Linked DNA regions of Homo sapiens: region 1 is linked to region 2. Evidence: promoter capture Hi-C in human tissues and cell types (Jung and others, 2019). All regions are on one chromosome and are shown on one strand. Each heading gives the region's core, a stretch centred on a gene start or on the middle of the fragment in contact. The rest is flanking DNA. Distances are from core to core; before and after follow the strand shown.

Region 1 (4,857 bases), core at 1,511-4,010, 39 kb before region 2:
TTCCAATTATGGTCACCAGTCTAAATCCAAAAGTAAAAAGTAAAAGTAGGCGGGTGACCATAATTGGAAGAGTATTTGATTCTAGGCCCTTCTAAAGTTGGCTGTAATCTACATTATTGTTAGCCACACTGGAGTGGGGAGAACTCTGAACCCCAAGGCCTCCGTAGAGCCCAAGCTCAGATCACAGTTTTTGGAGACTGGTGCTTCAATTTTTTCTTCATTTGATTCTTCTTGTTGGGCTTCCAAGCACCAAAGCAGCCCTGCCATATCTCACACACTGTCTGTGGGACAGACAGGTTGGGGCAGTACTCTGCCGGCATGCCAGCGAGGTGGAGGTGGCTTCCCCTAGAGCCCAGAGACAGCTCGCTAGCATGTGATTTCAGCTCATGTTTCAGTGCGGTCAAAAGTTTCCAGCAGCACAGTATGTTCAATCAAAATGGGCAAAACTGCAGCTGGCAGAACACCAAGCTCATGGGTGGGAGTGTTAGGAGAGGACGAACTGTCCAATGGGAGCAAGACTCTCACAGACAGAATAGCAAAGGACACTTCTGGGGAAAGAAAAACCTCAGCATAAAACAGAGCTTCAGTGCCAACCTGGTCATTAATCTACACTTCTAGAATCTGATTAGCTTTCAAAGGCTGAGCAGATGAGAGCGTCTTGCATTGTTTTCTCTTTATTCCACAGAAAGAATTGACCTGATTTCCCCCAGTTTTACAGTCTTTTTCCCTTTTTTTTTTTTCATGCTGCATGTATCTCCTTAGTTAATGGTCCCTCTTATCTACAGAATATTATTTTAACCTTAACTTACAGGTTTTCCTTTAGTAGACATTTTTACAAAATGTTGATTATCTAAATATGTAAGTGAAAGTCGGTTCCCTGCAGCAGCACATGGCAGAACTTTACATGTGCCACCTTTTTCCTCAGTCAAGTGAAGATGAACCAGAAATTTTCTGAGTGCATTTAGTGTGAATCCTCATAGGCATGTGTGCTTTTGTTTGTTAGTTTTTATGCTTTCTCTTCACAAATGTTGTCACATGTTGCTTACACAAGTGTTGGGGTTTTTCCGTGGAGCTTAGGGTGCTTTGGATCTGGTGCCTCCCTTCCGGGTCGGTATCTGATTTGCTTTCCTGGCTCTTGTTCCTTAATTACAGATTAAGGCGGATTATCAGATCTCACCTTTCCCTCCCCAGGGAGGCCTGGAAGGAGGGAAACTGGCCTTAAGAAGTCGCCAAGAACCAGCCTCAGGAGGCCATGATCTCTGAATATAGGATCTTTTCTCCCCACCCGGGGTTTTCCCCCATTTTTATGTCTGTTTTCATCAGGCATTGTCAGAGAAAAAGATCTTCCATCTGTTTTTTTTTTCAAGAGTTGTACACAAAAAAGTTTAGTGAGACATCTGCCTCCTGTTCCTGCCCTTAGCCACATATTCTGTCCTCAAAGGTTTCTTTATGAGCAGTTTCTTTAGTTTCTTTTTCTTTTTTTTTTTTTTTTTTTTTTTTTTGAGACAGAGTCTCGCTCTGCTGCCCAGGCTGCTGGAGTGCAGTGGCGCAATCTCGGCTCACTGCTACTGCTGCCTCCCTGGCTCTAGCAATTCTCCTGCTTCAGCCTCCCGAGTAGCTGGAATTACAGGTGTGCACCACCATGATCTAACTTTTTGTATTTTTTAGTAGAGACAGGGTTTCACCATGTTGGGCAGGCTGGTCTTGAACTCCTGACCTCAAGTGATCTGCCCACCTTGGCCTCCCAAAGTGCTGGGATTACAGGTGTGAGCCACCACCCACAGCCCGCTATGAGCAGTTTCTTTGATTCTCTCCAGATCTATTCCCTGCATATAGAAGCATCCATGTCTGTGTGTCTTTCTGCCTTTTTTTTTTTACGGAAATGGTTGCACATACGACACACCGTCTTCACCTTGCTTTCTTCAACAGTATATTGAAGAGTTTTTTCCCCCAATTTGGAGAGTCAAATATTTTGCTGCTTCATTCAGTTATGCAACAGATATTTCTTCTATTTTTTTTTTTTCTTGAGATGGAGTCTTGCTCTGTTGCCCAGGCTAGAGTGCAGTGGCGCCATCTCAGCTCACTGCAACCTTCAGCTTTGGGGTTGAAGCAAGTGATTCTCCTGTGTCGGCCTCCCAAGTAGCTGGGATTATAGGCGCACGCCACCATGCTTGGCTAACGTTTGTATTTTTAGCAGAGATGGGGTTTCACCATGATGGCCAGGCTGGTCTTGAACTCCTGACCTCAAATAATCTGCTTGCCTCGGCTTCCCAAAGTGCTGGGATTACAGGGGTGAGCCACCACGCCTGGTCAAGATATCAAGATATTTCTTGAAGACGTGTTACATGAGGCACACTAATAAATACCTACGTATGATGACCACTTTGGGACCCTTGGGAGACACAGAGTCCTTACTATGCCAAAATACTGTAGCTATTTCCGGTGAATGTATTCTTTTTTTTTTTTTTTTTTTTTGAGACGGAGTTTAGCTCTCGTTGCCCTAGCTGGAGTGCAATGGTGCAATCTCAGCTCACTGCAACCTCTGCCTCCCAGGTTCAAGTGATTCTCCTGCCTCAGCCTCCCTAGTAGCTGGGATTACAGGCGTGTGCCACCACGCCCAGCTAATTTTTTGTATTTTTGGTAGAAACGGGTTTTAACCAGGCTGGTCTCAAACTCCTGACCTCAGGTGATCCGCCCGCCTTGGCCTCCCAAAGTGCAGGGATTACAAGCGTGAGCCACTGCGACTGGCAAGTGAATGAATTATTTTTTTCCTTTTTCTTTTTCTTTGAGATGGAGTCTCACTCTGTTGCCAGGCTGGAGGGCAGTGGCACGATCTTGGCTCACTGGCTCACTGCAACCTCCATCTCCCGGGTTCAAGCAATTCTCCTGCCTCAGCCTCCTGAATAGCTGGGATCACAAGCGTGTGCCACCACGCCTGGCTAATTTTTTAATTTTTAGTAGAGACGGGGTTTCACCGTGTTGGTCAGGCTGGTCTTGCACTCCTGACCTCAGGTGATCCACCCACCTTGGCCTCCCAAAGTGCTGGGATTACAGGCGTGAGCCACCACACCCAGCAGTGAATGAATTCTTATAAGATTGGCGGCTGGGCGCAGTGGCTCACGCCTGTTATCCCAGCACTTTGAGAGGCCAAGGCGGGCAGATCACGAGGTCAGGAGATCAAGACCATCCTGGCCAACATGGTGAAACCCTGTCTCTACTAAAAATACAAAAAATTAGCCGGGCATGGTTGCGGGCACCTGTAGTCCCAGCTACTCGGGAGGCTGCGCCAGGAGAATGGCGTGAACCCAGGAAGCGGAGCTCGCAGTGAGCCGAGATCGCGCCACTGAACTCCAGCCTGGGCGACAGAGCGAGACTCTGTCTCAAAAAAAAAAAAAAGATTGGCATGTTGTTCTCCACAGGTATTCATCATCCCACCCTCACTATGGCACTCCAGGACCCAGATTCAAATATTCGAGGAAACTGATGAGTGAAATATGTGAATAAGAGGGGGTGGGCTGGGTGGCTGGTGATTACAGTGGCTCATGCCTGTAATCCCAGCACTTTGGGAGGCCGGGGCAGGCGGATCACCTGAGGTCAGGAGTTCAAGACCAGCCTGGCCAACGTGGCAAAACCCTGTCTCTACTAAAAATGTAAAAACAAATTAGGCGTGGTGGTGCATGACTGTGGTCCTACAGGCACTATTTTACATGCCTGTAGTCCCAGCTACTTGGGAGGCTGAGACAGGAGAATCGCTTGAACCCAAGAGGCAGAGGTTGCAGTGAGCCTATATCGTGCCACTGCATTCCAGCCTCGACAACAGAGCGAGACTTGTCTCCAAAAAAAAAAAAAAAAAAGGCGGGGGGGGATGGAATTCGGCTGTAAAGAATTAGGAATAAAGACTCATTTCCACTAGGATTTTAGAGGTGTGTTAGATCTGACTCAGAAGAGGACCCTTCCTCCCTCCTTCTCAGCCACTTGTGACTAATCATCAGACTTGGTTTTACTCGGTAGTTTCAGTTAAAAATTTGAAACATTTATATTAGAATTTTCGATTAACTTTTTTCAGAGTTGGGAATTTCAGAATGACTTTTTTTAAAAATTGACTCCATTATGATAAATCAGTTTTTCTTGCAGAAAGCTTATTACATTGTAAAATAGTGCCTGTAGGACATTTTCAACTCATCTGTAAAGGGCCTTCTTAACTTTGTCCCTCCCCTGTCCTTGCCACAGTCCGGATGCTGCTGATAGCACGTCTTTCGATGTCCAGCTAGGAGACATTATCCTGACGGCAACAGATGGACTCTTTGACAACATGCCTGATTATATGATTCTTCAGGAGCTAAAAAAGTTAAAGGTAATTAACTCAAAGGTTAGCTCTTGGGAAAAGTGGCCCTCTCTGGATAGCTGAGTTTTATGGATTCAGTTGCATTATCTCTTTGTAGTTTTGGAAAGAACTATTTTGTGAATTTCAGGAAAATAATAATAGCTCTGGTCTTTCAAATAATTAGAGCACTTGGAAAAAGAAGCTTCCTACCCAAGGTTTTCATAGGCTGGTAGAAGTAGGAAAAGTCTAGATGGAGGGCATTTCTTGTTTGTATCTTTATTTATATTTTAATGGTGTCGGGTCCTGGTTGTTTCTCCTTTTATTCTTCTAACACCCAGCAGGTGTTGAATCAGGCAAAGACAGGAAATAGTCATGCCAGAGCCAGCCAAAGGCAGCAGGCCACTGGAAGCCTCAGTGTGACCTGAGCTGCCACCAGTAACCAAATAGTATGGGTTTCTCCCATAGAGGAAGGAGGTGAAACTAGGCTTTCAATTTTTTCCTGGCTTTGTGAACATACTCTGGGAAAAATGAGT
Region 2 (5,112 bases), core at 1,360-3,859:
CAGTCATGAGCCTTAACCTTAATGTGTGAAATGGCAAAAGGCAATATATAAGGGAGTTGCAATATATAAGGGAGTTACAGCATATTGGCGGTCTCACACCTTGTCTAAGCGGGGAAACCATTACTCAGTTTCAGCCAACTACTTCCACTTGGGAATGAATGCAGTCCCAAAACTGTCAGGTCTTCTGAATTTTCAAGAGAAGCAGGAAAAATTTGACTCAATTTTTTTTTTTTTTTTTTTTGGGACGGAGTCTCACTCTCACTCTGTTGCCCAGGCTGGAGTGCAGTGGCACCATGTCGGCTCACTCACTGCAACCTCCATCTGCTGGATTCAAGCAATTCTCCCACCTCAGCCTCCCGAGTAGCTGGGATTACAGGTGCCCACCACCATGCCAGGCTAATTTTTATATTTTTAGTAGAGAAGGAGTTTCACCATGTGGACCAGGCTAGTCTCGAACTCCTGACCTCAGGTGATCCACCCACCTCGGCCTCCCAAAGTGCTGGGATTACAGGCGTGAGCCATCGCGCCCGGCCTCAATTTTTAAATGTTGGAAATTATTTCAAATTAAAAAAAAAAAAAAACAGTGCAGGCCAACAAACATTCCTGCAGACCGTAGCTAGTCTCTTAACTACCAGTTTGTGACTTCCAGTTTAAATCAATCAAGCTTATCTGCATATTTTCAACTTTACCATGCTCTAAGTGTATTCAGATATGTAAAATAAAGATAAACAGTGAAAGGGATAATTACAATTTCTGGATTTCCTAGTTAACATTCAATCTGGACTGGGATCTTTAAACATCTCCTCTTGCCTTGATACGTGATCTGTTAACTTTCTTACTTACACCTTTTTTAGATGGGTCTAGCCAGAACTCGTCACTAATTCGTGATAGAGCTTGAACTGCTTTCCCAAATACTATGGAGAAAAAGAAAGGTGATGCTTATATTCTTTCCCTCTAACAATAAAAACAAATCACAAGACTAGTTCAGCATTCAGAGGACTCAAGAGAAATTCAAAAATAACAGTATCTTACAGACTAATGCTACATTACTTTAATACAGTATAATACCCTTGGCAAAATGCCAGACACATAGTCAGGGCTCAATAAATTTGTAGTGTGTGAAATGATAAAATTGACCGAAATTTGTCCTTCTATATGTTTACAGTGTTGCATGGAGCTACTGTGCAAACCAATTTCCATACTAATGTATTTTACAACTTGATTTAGATAAATGTATTTGACCCCCCAAAAACTGTGAAAACAGTGCATGGAGAAGATAATCTGAAGTGGTTTTAATAGCTTGATAGCCAAGTCACAACAAGTCATGAGAGAGAAATTAGGGGTATCCAACATACATCTCTGATGTTTGAGGGCAGCCAGATTTCCCCACCACAGAACACATTTAGGGCTGGAAAACACACTAGTCTGATCCCGTACGACATTGTTAATGTTCTTTTTATTTTTTATTTTTTTTGAGACAGAGTCTCACTCTGACACTCAGGCTGGAGTGCAGTGGCACGAGCTCAACTCACTGCAGCCTCAACCTCCCGGGCTCAATCGATCCTCTCGCCTCAGCCTTCCAAGTAGCTTGGGATTACAGGCGCCCACCACTAAGCCCGGCTAATTTTTGTATGTTTAGTAGAGACGGGGTTTCATCATGTTGGTCAGGGTGGTCTCGAACTCCCGACCTAAGGTGATCCACCCGCCTTGGCCTCCCAAAGTGCTAGGATTACAGGCGTGAGCCACTGCACCCGGCCTAACTTCCATTTTGAAAGCGCCGTTTACAACACTAATAGTTCTTGTACATTCCATCTATTACTGGGCTCTTTACACGCATTTCCATTTCATTGCCTCCAAACAAACTCTGTGACGAAGGTGCTGTCATTACCCCTGTTTCCGTTTTAGAAACTGAGCCCCAAAGAGATTTAGTGACTTTTCCAAGTTCATACATTTTTAAAAATGGTAGAATCTGGGGAAAAAAAAAACCAGGTTAATGCTGTTCTCTTGGCACAAAAATACTTTTACTGTCCAAGCATTATTTTTTTCTCTCAACTCTTCCCCATGCAGTCCTCAGCATCCCGAGTTTGTGGCCCGATGGTACAACTCTATTTCCCGGATACCACCCATATTACATCTGCCTCTAAGTCACACGAGATGGGTCCTCATCCTCCCCTCAGAAGTTAACAGGGACTTGAGTGGGTGGGGCTGTGGCCAGGGCGTGCGTCCTCAGTCATTGCGCAAAAAGGCAAAGAGGAAAAATTAGACAATGGTAGGGACGACCTATTAACGTCTGCTTTTCTCTCTGCTAAATGGGAAGACAACAAAGGCCGCTCCACCTTTCACCTGACTGCCGCTCATCACGCACTTCAGCATGGCTGCCATCCGCCCTAAAAAGCAGGCTCGGAAGGCGCGCCTCAGCTCGACGGCCCAGGTGCCCGGATGTTGCCCGCGCTTTTCAAAGCTTCGCGATCTCGTCTCTGCACTCTACCACCCCGCCTCCACAAGTTCCCAAACGGCTTTACGGCGGAGAAGGGTCCGTGCGGGCCTCCGTACGGCAATTTCTGTCTCCCTCTGCTCTCATTGGTTGCGGTTAAGTGGGCGGGTCGCCGAGGAGCCTGAGGAAGAGGGCGGCGACGGTGGTGGTGACTGAGCGGAGCCCGGTGACAGGATGGTGAGGGCTGCAGTTGCGGCGACCAAGGCCTGGCTCTCGGGTGGGGTGCTGCGTTGTTGGGAGCCGTGGGGAGGCCGAGGGCGAGGAATTGGGAAATCCCGGAGGCCTCGGCGTCAGGGCCCAGGCGCTGGCCTGGGAAAGGCCCAGAAGAGGTCTAGGGAAGGAAGGGAGCGGCCACCTCTGGGTGCGGCTGGCCTAGGTCTCGTATCCCGGCCCCAAGGGGCCAGAGGCCATCCAAGGGGTAAAAAGGCCCCTCTAGCAGCCCGACCTGTCACGAGACACGCACGCCCGAGCCAGGGAAGGCCTTTGGTCCTATACCTCGAATGTTCCGGGGATAGGGGCACGGTCCTCCGTTTCCAGACGGTTCCTACTCGTTTCCCGCAAAAAGCACCTCCCGCTGGTTGGGGTGTAGTGGTGGAAGCTGGCCTCTCGAATGCAGAACAGGAAGTAGCGAGCAGAATTTCGTACCCGTTTAACTTTGCCATCTAGGGAAAGGGAATAAACCACCCTCCTCGCTCCTGAAATAACATCTAGCTGCCATTGAGATGAGCAGGTGTGCTCTCAGAGGGCGGGATTTGGCGCTTGCAATTGCTGGAACTGTTTCTTTCCACGGGTTGCTACGCCTCTTTAGGGTAGGATTCCTTAATGATGTGTGAACTCATTGAAACTGTTGGGAAATTTTTGTGAATATACACATTTTTCTGGGGAGAGTGCCGGTGTTGGAGACTTACCTAGTCTCCCCCAGCCACCTTCAAGCAATCACCCCTTCACCCCCAGTAGTTTGGTGCCCCTCAGACCTTCCTACATAAAAACTGGGGGCCTCTACTAGAGAGGACTCAGAGCTGTAATCATATTTTCTTTCTTTCTTTTTGAGATGGAGTCTCGCTCTGTCGCCCAGGCTGGAGTGCAATGCCGCGATCTCGGCTCACTGCAATGCCGCCCGGGTTCAAGCCTCAGCTCCTGCCTCAGCCTCCCGAGTAGCTGGGATTACAGGCGCCCGCCACCAAGCCCGTCTAAATTTTTGTATTTTTAGTAGAGACGGGGTTTCACCATGTTGGTCAGGCTGGTCTCTACCTCCCGACCTCAGATGATCCACCCGCCTCGGCCTCCCAAAGTGCTGGGGTTACAGGCGTGAGCCACCGCGCCCGGCCTGTAATCATATTTTCAAAGGTGCCTTTGACTCTTAAAAAGTCAATTGTTTGGGGCAACCCACTCGGGTCCCCTTCCACCCTGTGTAAGCTTTGTTCTTTCGCTCTTCACAATAAATCTTGCTGCTGCTCAAAAAAAAAAAAAAAATCAATTGTTTGAAATGGAGCTGTGATTATCTTCATATTTGTGTTGATGGAGGTTGGCTGTAAAGGGACGTCTACCTCTGACAGGCATTTATTGCATTCTTTTTTATTTTTACAAGGAAACCAAAGAAGCTATGCATTTTTAAGATTATTACTATTGCATGACAAACAGCCTTTTCAAGAGGGGGACTTACAGACATGGCAGCCAGAGATTTATGGTGCATGCTTCTTTAAAATCTTTAATCTCACTTTTAATTTTTGCTTCTAAACAGACTCCAATTTAAAGTAATCCGTTTACAGTAATTTCGAGACACCTATCCATGGGAGAAGACATAATTACTTGCCATGGTTTCAAAATATTAATGTTTCTCAAGTTGTTTGAGAAGTGATCCCTCTTATTTAGGGTAGTTGTACTGGAACATCATTTTTCATATGAAATAGAACTGGGAAAAATTTAGCATTAGCCAGTTCTTTCATGATTAAAAGCATTTTATTTGGCAAAGGATACAGACGTTCAACACTCAGTACAGTGTCCAGAGTCTGTGGGCAGCAAATTCAAGTGTGGGAAAGGTCCAGTTTTACCTGAATAAATGTGTTTGTTTTTATTATTTTGTCTTCACCTTTAGTTGATTTGTTCAACACTTGATAATGTATTCATGGTGCTGTGTTGCATCAGCTACAAAAAATCACCTAGCCGCAGCATAATTTTCCAGCTACTAGAATTTTGAATGTAAGATAATTAACATCCATATACTTGAATAATTAAACCCTAAGAATCCAGAAAATGTTAGCCTTTCAGCTATTACTGATGATAAATTTTCCACAGTGTCTTGTAGAAATCCAAATTCATTATTTTATAAAATCTTATAAAAATCTAAACAGAATGGAAAACAGAGATGGAAGTCGATGTACAGAACAAGATTAGGAAAAGTAGGAGAAACTGACAAGACAAATTTATTAAAAAGTGTGTGTGTCATGTTCAAAAATAAAGCAAATATTTATTTTGGTATTGTTTTGAGCACAGCTGATTTTTAACATTTTCTTTCATAACACTCAGAAATCATTAACAATTGTTTGCTCATTTGGTATGGGTTTTTTGTTCTCTTTTTTTTTTTTGGTTTCTTTTTGTTGCTTTCTTTTAACATTGGT

Evidence for each region. The method cuts DNA at HindIII sites, captures the fragments that hold promoters and counts their contacts. A contact is called where the count stands out against the background at its distance.
Region 1: a fragment that was not itself captured here is called in contact with the fragment with the promoter of VPS29 in region 2 in 5 of the 25 tissues and cell types used here (H1 embryonic stem cells, bladder, hippocampus and 2 more).

The regions. Positions count from the first base shown.
Region 1 is chr12:110,539,319-110,544,175 of GRCh38, reverse strand. It overlaps PPTC7 (protein phosphatase targeting COQ7), which reads left to right. Exons shown (of 6, transcript NM_139283.2): 4 at 4,231-4,354. Among named protein-coding and RNA genes, the nearest start is that of RAD9B, 39 kb to the right of the region's middle. RefSeq lists enhancers at 141-240, 2,722-3,222, 3,223-3,723. The HindIII fragment of the contact is 6,941 bases long and covers 1-4,857 here.
Region 2 is chr12:110,499,608-110,504,719 of GRCh38, reverse strand. It overlaps VPS29 (VPS29 retromer complex component), which reads left to right and starts at 2,609. Exons shown (of 4, transcript NM_016226.5): 1 at 2,609-2,671. The coding sequence starts at 2,669. RAD9B (RAD9 checkpoint clamp component B) reads right to left here and starts at 2,389. Exons shown (of 11, transcript NM_001286535.2): 1 at 2,337-2,389; 2 at 844-914. The coding sequence starts at 2,382. LOC124903015 (a long non-coding RNA gene) reads right to left here. Exons shown (of 2, transcript XR_007063458.1): 2 at 4,895-5,112. RefSeq lists an enhancer at 2,641-2,780. The HindIII fragment of the contact is 3,487 bases long and covers 1,564-5,050 here.